Linked DNA regions of Homo sapiens: region 2 is linked to region 1. The links are contacts of gene promoters, found by promoter capture Hi-C in human tissues and cell types (Jung and others, 2019). All regions are on one chromosome and are shown on one strand. Each heading gives the region's core, a stretch centred on a gene start or on the middle of the fragment in contact. The rest is flanking DNA. Distances are from core to core; before and after follow the strand shown.

Region 1 (4,005 bases), core at 895-3,394:
GGAATCTGGTTCTCAGGTCTAGATCCACGAGGACCTAAACCCAGTGCCTCCTAATTCAGGAAGCTGTCCAGGACTGCCCATCCCCGCTGCTAACCTAGGCCACTCCTTCTGGCCCTGCCCTGACGACAGGGAACTGGAAGTGTGTATCCTGTGATGGCTTGTCCATTCTCGGCTACTCCTCCAGGAAACAGCTGGACAGCCAGGACTCTGGATGTTCAGAAGGTGGGAAGGGGCTGAATGAATGAGTTCACACTTTGCCCACGCACCGTTCTACATACTGGGAATCTAGTCGGAAGAAAAACGAAGATCCTGCTCCCACAAAACTTAACACAGGGATGGATCCTTCCAGCTCTGCCCAGTCTTACATGCCAACTCTGCCCTCTAAGTACACCGCAGAGAGGGACAGGCTCTCTGAATCCTTGCACTTGAAATCGCCTTTGCAAAAATTGTAGCGGGAAATTATGACAGTGAAAAGAGATCAGACCTAACCGACTCCATTGTGCTTCTAACCTTTACGCCATCTTTGCTTATTCCTAGGTATAGGCCAAACTAACCTTGGGAAGGGATTTAGTTTATAGTTTGACTCTGGAACAAAATTGGTAATAGCCCTTTCCCGAAAAGACCCTCTTCTTGCCTGGGGACCAGTCTGCCTTTGTAGGACTAACAAATAAGCTACAAGATTAGAAATTACCATTTAGGTAACTTCAGCCTCTGGCTGCAAGAGTCTGAAACTCCCCAAATTGCTCCTTGGGATAACATCACTATTATAAAATCTAAGATCAGTGCTTGAGATATTTTGCAGACCCCGTACTTGACGGATCAGCTGACACTACCCAGACCAGTAATCTGGCTCAACCAGTCCTGCGATCCCACCCAGGAACAGAAGACAGCAAGAAAACCTCACTTCAACACTCCCGTCGATGACTCCATCGACCTCAGGAAGCTCCAACCAATCAGCACTCCCCACTTCCTGAGCCCCTACCCGCCAAATTATCTTTCAAAACTCGGATCCCCTAATGCTCAGCGGAGACTGATTTGAGCAATAATAAAACTCTGGTCTCCTGCATAGCTGGCTCTGTGTGAAATACTCTTTCTCCACTGCAATTCCCCTGTCTTGATAAATCTGTCTAGGAAGACAGGCAAGGTGAACCCATTGGGTGGTTACACACTGACCAGCCGGATTTAGGGAGAGTTCTCACTAATCCACAGTTCTGATGCAGCCACCCCTGGGGGACCCTCCTGGTTACTGAATCTCCCACTGTCTCACAGAGTCTGGAAGTCACATCCCCAACAAGGGCCTTGGTTTCTCTCATTGAAAAAAGAAGGACCAGAAGCTGATGGGCCAGGAAACTCCCAGCTCTGAATTCCTTTTCCGATCTGCACAGTGGGGGACACGGGCACTTTCTAGCCCAGATCCAGAACTTCCAGAATCATAAACAATGGGCCCTGCAGAGACCTGGGCCGCAATTTTTCCTTCTTTGTATTGGGAGGATGTACTTTGTCCACCCCTAGCTCAAAACGCCCCCTTCCGCTGGAATGACATGCTATGTGACCCAAGGAGAAACACCACACCCCAGCACCAGGCCTGCTTTTCAGCCAGAAACCAAGAGGCCTAGGAGGCTGTGCTGCTAGCATCTTGCAAGCTCTGAAATTCCTAAAACTAAGTTTCACAACTCAGACTGGCCCCCTACTTCCCAGCACTCTAGTTTTCAATCAGGGAGGTCAGACTGGGCCCGAAGCGTAAGGGACCCCTTCCCTGCCCAAAAACTCTCTGCTGCATTTGGCGGATCCCCACCTTTTTTTTTTTTACTTCAGTTTCCCCACCTGCAAACTGGGAAAACTAACTAAGGCGAGGCCACTGTACTGTGGATACAAGTCCGTGCAACCCTAAATCCCAGACACGAACGTGATAGAGCCACCTGCAGTCTCCGGCCTCAGTTTCCCAGCCTCGTGCCGGGGGGCGGGACTCGAGGCTCGGACCTTACGTTCGCCCCGCGCCAACCAAGCCCACAGCGCCCGCCCGCAGGGATCCCAACGACTGCTGTTCCCGCCTCCCGGTGAGACCCCGCAGTTGCCCTGCCCTCACCATGGTGCCGGCGGGGACCGGGCTCGCCGGCCACTTCCGCCGCCGCCGCTGCACACGCTCCCGGCGGTCGTCGCCGCGCCGCGCGCCACTAAGCTGAAAGAAAGTGGCAGAGACGCAAGCCAGTCAGCACCGGGCTCGAAGGGCGGTCAACCAATCCACGCGGAGTAGGGCGGGGCCCGCTGGGCGAAAGGGCGGGGCGGGCCGTGTTCCCGCCGGAGGAACGAGGACGAGAGCCGTAAAGTGCCGCGGCTTGTAATGCAAAAGGAGGCGGAGCAACGCGCGCCGGCGCGGGGTGCATTGTGAGGAAATGCGTGCGCAGGTGAAACCTTCGTCGGTCTCCTGGGCTCCACGCTGTGGGCAAAGCCAGTTAATGCCTTTCGTTTGCAGTAGAGAGAGAGAAATCGAGGCTTCGTGGTGATTGGGCCGTGCCTGATGTTGCCCTTCCGACTCCTAGTTTTCTGATTCTGTAATTATCCAGGGAACATCATTTAATAGGTTGGAATCCTGACCACGACCCTCGGGGCCTCAGTTTGCTCCCTGTAAATAGTAGTGTCTGCTCCAAAACGTTGCTTACTGTAAGGATGAAATGAATGAAACCATGTAAAAGCACTTAAAACAGCGTCTGGCACATATTAAGTACTTATTACCTACTCTGTGCCTGTTTCTGCTCACAGAATGAACAAAACACAAAATTCGTGGCCCTCAGGGAGACAGACAGTAAACAAAGTAAATAGGCGAATGCTATTAGTTTTCTGGGGCCTGCTGTAACAAATGCCCACACACTGCGAGGTTTAAAACAACAGAACGTGATTTTCTCACAATTCAAGAGATCAGAATAATGAAGTGAGGTTGTCAGCACAGTTGGCTCCCTCTGGAGGCTCTGAGGACAATCTGTGTGTCCTATGCCTCTCTCCTGGGTTCTGGTGGCTGCTGGGAATCCTTGGAGTTCTTGGCTTGTAGATGCAGCCTTCCGCGTTCTGCCTTTGTCGTCACTTGGCCTTCTCTGTGTGTCTCTGAGTCTCAAATGTATCTCTCCTTTTTTTTTTCTTTTTTTTTTTTGTAGTAGAGACAGGGTCTCCCTATGTTGTCCAGGCTGGTCTCGAACTCCTGGGGTCAAGCAATCCTCCCTCCTCTGCCTCCCAAAGTGCTGGGATTACAGGCGTGAGCCACCGAGCCCGGCCGCTCCTTTTTCTTGTAAAGGACACTCCTTTCTCTTATTAAGTCCACCATAAATTTCAGGATAATGTCATCTCAAGATCCTTAATTACATCTGCGAAGACCCTGTTCTTTTTTTTTTGAGATGGAGTCTCATTCTATCACCCAGGCTGCAGTGCAGTGGTGCGATCTCAGCTCACTGCAACCCCTCCCTCCTGGGTTCAAGGGATTCTTCTGCCTCAGCCACCCGAGTGGCTAGGATTACAGGCACATGCCACAATGCCCAGCTAATTTTTGTATTTTTAGCAGAGACGGGGTTTTGCCATGTTGGCCAGGAGGTGGCCTCGAACTCCTGACCTCAGGTGATCCTTCCACCTTGGCCTCCCAAAGTGCTGGGATTACAGGCATGAGTCACCACGCCCAGCCTCGTTTTTAAATGACTGATGCTATTTATTGACATTATTCATAATATCAAAAGACTGAAAAAAACCCAATGCGACCAAATAATAGAGTAATACAGCTATAAAAAGGAATGAAGACAATCTTCATATACTGACATTGAATGGTGTCTGGATATCTTAAGTGAAAAAAACCAAGGTAGAGAACAGTTTTTACAATATGTCCTCTTTTGTGTGCAAAAAGAGAAATACATGCATGTGTATGTGTATATATATTTGCATGTGTGTGTGTATATATATATATATATATATTTTTTTTTTTTAACCACACCAAGCACGTGAACCAAATTTGCTTATATTTTTAAT
Region 2 (4,005 bases), core at 778-3,277, 360 kb after region 1:
AAACCCTGTCTCTACTAAAAATACAAAAAGTAGCCGGGTGTGGTGGTGGGTTCCTGTAATTCCAGCTACTTGGGAGGCTGAGGCAGGAGAATCACTTAAACCCCAGAGGCAGAGGTTGCAGTGAGCTGAGTCTGTGCCACTGCACTCCAGCCTGGGAAACAGAGACTCCGTCTCAAAAAAAAAAAAAAAAAAAAAATCCCATAAAAATTAGCTGAGCATCATGGTGCATGCCTGTAATCCCAGCTACTTGGGAGGCTGAGGTAGGAGAATCGCTTGAACCTGAGAGGCAGAGATTGCAGTGAGCCAAGGTTGCGCCACTGCACTCTAGCCTGGGCGACAGAGTGAGACTCTGTCTCAAAACAAAGATAAAGTAGGGCAGTGGCAATATCCAAGGCATTCTAAATGAAAATCGATATATATATATATATATTTAACATGAGCATTTTATTACCTGTTGTAAAGCATGAATCAAAGCATGTTTGGAAGATGTCAGCATCCCCTCCAGCCATCCTCAGTCCAATAAAATGTGTGCTTGTTGTGCCATTAGAGCCATCATCAATTCCCCCAGCTGACCTTCCTAGCTTCCACCCAGCCCATACTCTGAAATCCCTGCAGCCTCCTGAATATAAACTTTCAATATTGGTGGTTGGGGGTCCCTCTCTTGAGGGAGGGAGGGTTAGAGTCCCTCCTGCTTCCCTGGCTTACCACTCTGCCATCGGGGGAGTCTCTGCTCCTTCCTTCACTGCTGAGTCTTGATGGGATTTCTGGACCCTTCTGTTAGCACCTTGTTGCAAAATAGAGATCCTTGAACAAGACTGGACTGGAGAAGTATGCAGAGGGAAGGCTGAAGCTCTGTAACTCCAGTTCTTTGGGCTCAGGTATCCAGAGAATAGCAATATGCCCATTGCAAGGGAATGGGAAAAAGTAGTCGTCGGCTGGACATGGTGGCTCACGCCTGTAATCCCAGCACTTAGGGAGGGCGAGGCGGGTGGATCACCTGCTGTCAGGAGTTCAAGACCAGCCTGGCCAACATGGTCTTTAGTCTCTACTGAAAATAAAAAAATTAGCTGGGCGTGGTGGCGCCTGCCTGTAATCCTAGCTACTGGAGAGGCTGAGGCAGGAGAATGGCTTGAACCTGGGAGGAGGAGGTTGCAGTGAGCCGAGATCGCACCACTGCATTCCAGTCTGGGCGACAAGGGCAAAACTCGGTCTCAAGGGAAAAAAAAAAAAAAAAAAGAAAGTCGTTAAGGGCAACAGCTAGGTTTATGGACTGAGAGAGCCGATTGCAGGGTTCAGGTCTTAGCTAAGATAACTTTCCGCCTCCCTGTCTGTGGTGGCTGCAGGAGCCTCCCTCCCTAATGTTCTGTGGCTGGCCACTGGTCTTATTTACCGCATCACATTTACCTCCATCTGAAAAGTTCTTGGTTATTTGTGTGCTATGTCTGCCCCCTCTCTGACTGTACACTCCATAAGGGCAGGGATCACCTCTGCTTGTTCACGCCTGTACTCCAGTTTGCCTGGCACATAGTAGGTGCTCAGTAAATATTCCTTGAATGAATGAATGCATGAGTGACCAACGCCCTAGTCTGTTTTCAGAGCTCTTAGTCCAAACCCAGGTTCAACTTGGGGTGCCACCAATCCTTGCGGGGGGGGGTGCCTGGCCCCACCCTTGTGAATTGGGAGGATCTGGGTCAGGCCGTCTCCCTCTTGGGGGCTCCAGTGCCCCAGCCGATCCGCGGTCCTTGTCCAACAGCCCAGAGGCCGCTGTCCAGCGGGCCAGGAGGCGGATCACTGCGTCGGCGTTGAAATTTCCACTCGCGCTCCACCGCCCTTCCCGCGGGCCCCGAGCGCGCGCCTGGGCGCGCGCATGCGCCTTCGCCCCCGCGCCGCGCGCCGCTCCTGTGCGCCTGCGCCGCGCTCACGACCGCCGGCGCGCCTGCGCACTGCTCGCCGCCCGTGGGCCCAGCCGGCGCTTGCGCGGTGGCACGGGCGAGTGGGGGGGCGAGGAGGTGGAGGAGGAGGAGGAGGAGGAGGAGGTGGCGGCGAGAAGATGGCGACTTCGAACAATCCGCGGAAATTCAGCGAGAAGATCGCGCTGCACAATCAGAAGCAGGCGGAGGAGACGGCGGCCTTCGAGGAGGTCATGAAGGACCTGAGCCTGACGCGGGCCGCGCGGGTAAGGGGGCTGCCCGCGCCGACCCTTCAGGGCCGGCGGAGGGAGGGAGGGGGCGCGTGTCCGGCGCGTGCACGGGGCGGGGTGGGGGGGGGCGCGGCGGGGGCGGGGCGCGCGCGGCGGGGGCGGGGCTTGGCACGGCCCGAGGGGGACAGGTGTCCCCACGCCCCGGGCGTCGTGGGCGGGACAGGTGACCCCACAAAATCCATACCTGATGGGGTACAGGTGCCCTGCATCACTGCTCCCCGGAGGAGACAGGGGCCTCTATATCATTACTACTAGGAGGGAACAGGTGCTAGTACCTCGTCGTTACCTGACAGGGGACAGGTGTCCCTACATCATTGTTACCCGAGGGGGACAGGTGCCCCACATTATTACTACCTGGAAGGGACAGGTGCCCCCGCATCATTGCTACCTGGGGGGGCAGGATGACACAGGTGTATGAGCTGGGTGCTGCTTGCAAGCACCATTGGTAGCTGGGGGTGAGGGTGCAAGTGCCCCCGCATCCTTGCTACCTGGGAGGGACAGATGCCCTCCCATTCTTGCTACCTGAGGGGGACCGGTGTCTCTACGTCATGGTTACCTGTGCCTTTACTCCCTGGGTGTTGGGGGAGGAACGGATGTCCCCACTTGCAGAGCTGAGGTGGGACAGGGATCTCTCCCTCTTGGACAGCTGAGGGAATGGTCAGATCCTGTCCCCCAGGGGGTCCAGAGGGGGGCCAAGAAGGCAGATTGTGCTCAGTCCTGGAACTTGGAGTGGAGACAGCTGCCCCTTCTCCATGTAGCCCATATGGTGGGGGCCAGGTGATGTTCCTCCCAGTGGAACAGGGGATGCTGACCACAGCCCCTGCCCTCTCAGGACCAGGGTGGAGGGCCAGGTCTGCCTCAGGTGGCTGGGCGCATTTGGTGTGCAGGGGCAGGCCAGGTTCTGCCAGGCTCCTGTCTGGCAGAGCAGATACCCTGCAAATCTCACCTGGGAAGTTGCTGTGGGCCAGGAGCAGGGGCTTGGGGCTGGTGTCTGAGCACGGCAAGGCACCCGAGTTCCTCAGGCCTCAGTTTCTTGTCAGGCATTCTAGCAAGACCTTCCTCTTGGGGCAGGGTGGTGAGCACACTCTGCAAAGGTGATGCTGAATCTCCACTTTGTTCTTGCAGTGTGGTGAGACCTCTCTCCTGCATCCTGGGGCCTTGGGGAGGGTTTGGGTGGGCTTTGCAGATGCTCGTATCCCTGGTTTCCAGATTCAGCCACTGATGTGACTGGCTCAGGTAGACTTAACCTCAGTCTCTGATTCCTTAGGTAGCACTTTCAGTCTGTGTTACTTTGTAACTAGTTGTTTGTTTCTCTGAGAGATTGTGACCTTATAGACTAGGATTTGTGTCTTCATTTCTGTGTTGGTAATGATTGGGAGCTCACTGTCACCCAGGTACTGCTTTAGGCATGCTCGGTGAGTGTGCCACATCTGTCCTCCCAGCTCCAAGCAGCTACATTCTTGCTCAGGATGTAGAGAAAGAGATGGCTGGTGAATGAATGAATGAAAAAAAAATAAGAAAATGGCCAGGTGTGGTGGCTCATGCCTGTAATCCCAGCACTTTGGAAGGCTGAGGCAGTGGATCACCTGAGGTTAGGAGTTCGAGACCAGCCTGGCCAACGTGGTGAAACCCTGTCTGTACTAAAAATATAAAAATTAGCCGGACGTGGTGGTAGCTACCTGTAATCCCAGCTACTGGGGAGGTTGAGGTGGGAGAATCACTTGAACCTGGGAGGTGGAGGTTGCAGTGAGCCGAGATCATGTTACTGTACTCCAGCCTGGGTGACAAGAGTGAAACTCCATTTC

Evidence for each region. Contacts are between HindIII fragments. The study calls those that stand out against the background at their distance.
Region 2: the fragment with the promoter of CRTC1 here is called in contact with the fragment with the promoter of LSM4 in region 1 in 1 of the 25 tissues and cell types used here (dorsolateral prefrontal cortex).

What each region holds. Positions count from the first base shown.
Region 1 is chr19:18,320,932-18,324,936 of GRCh38, forward strand. It overlaps LSM4 (LSM4 homolog, U6 small nuclear RNA and mRNA degradation associated), which reads right to left and starts at 2,145. Exons shown (of 5, transcript NM_012321.5): 1 at 2,087-2,145. The coding sequence starts at 2,089. LOC105372300 (a long non-coding RNA gene) reads left to right here. Exons shown (of 2, transcript XR_007067157.1): 2 at 803-1,066. RefSeq lists a silencer at 2,026-2,205 and enhancers at 2,266-2,485, 2,684-3,286. The HindIII fragment of the contact is 25,574 bases long and covers 1-4,005 here.
Region 2 is chr19:18,681,653-18,685,657 of GRCh38, forward strand. It overlaps CRTC1 (CREB regulated transcription coactivator 1), which reads left to right and starts at 2,028. Exons shown (of 14, transcript NM_015321.3): 1 at 2,028-2,176. The coding sequence starts at 2,051. RefSeq lists an enhancer at 1,418-1,717 and a silencer at 1,928-2,017. The HindIII fragment of the contact is 17,160 bases long and covers 1-4,005 here.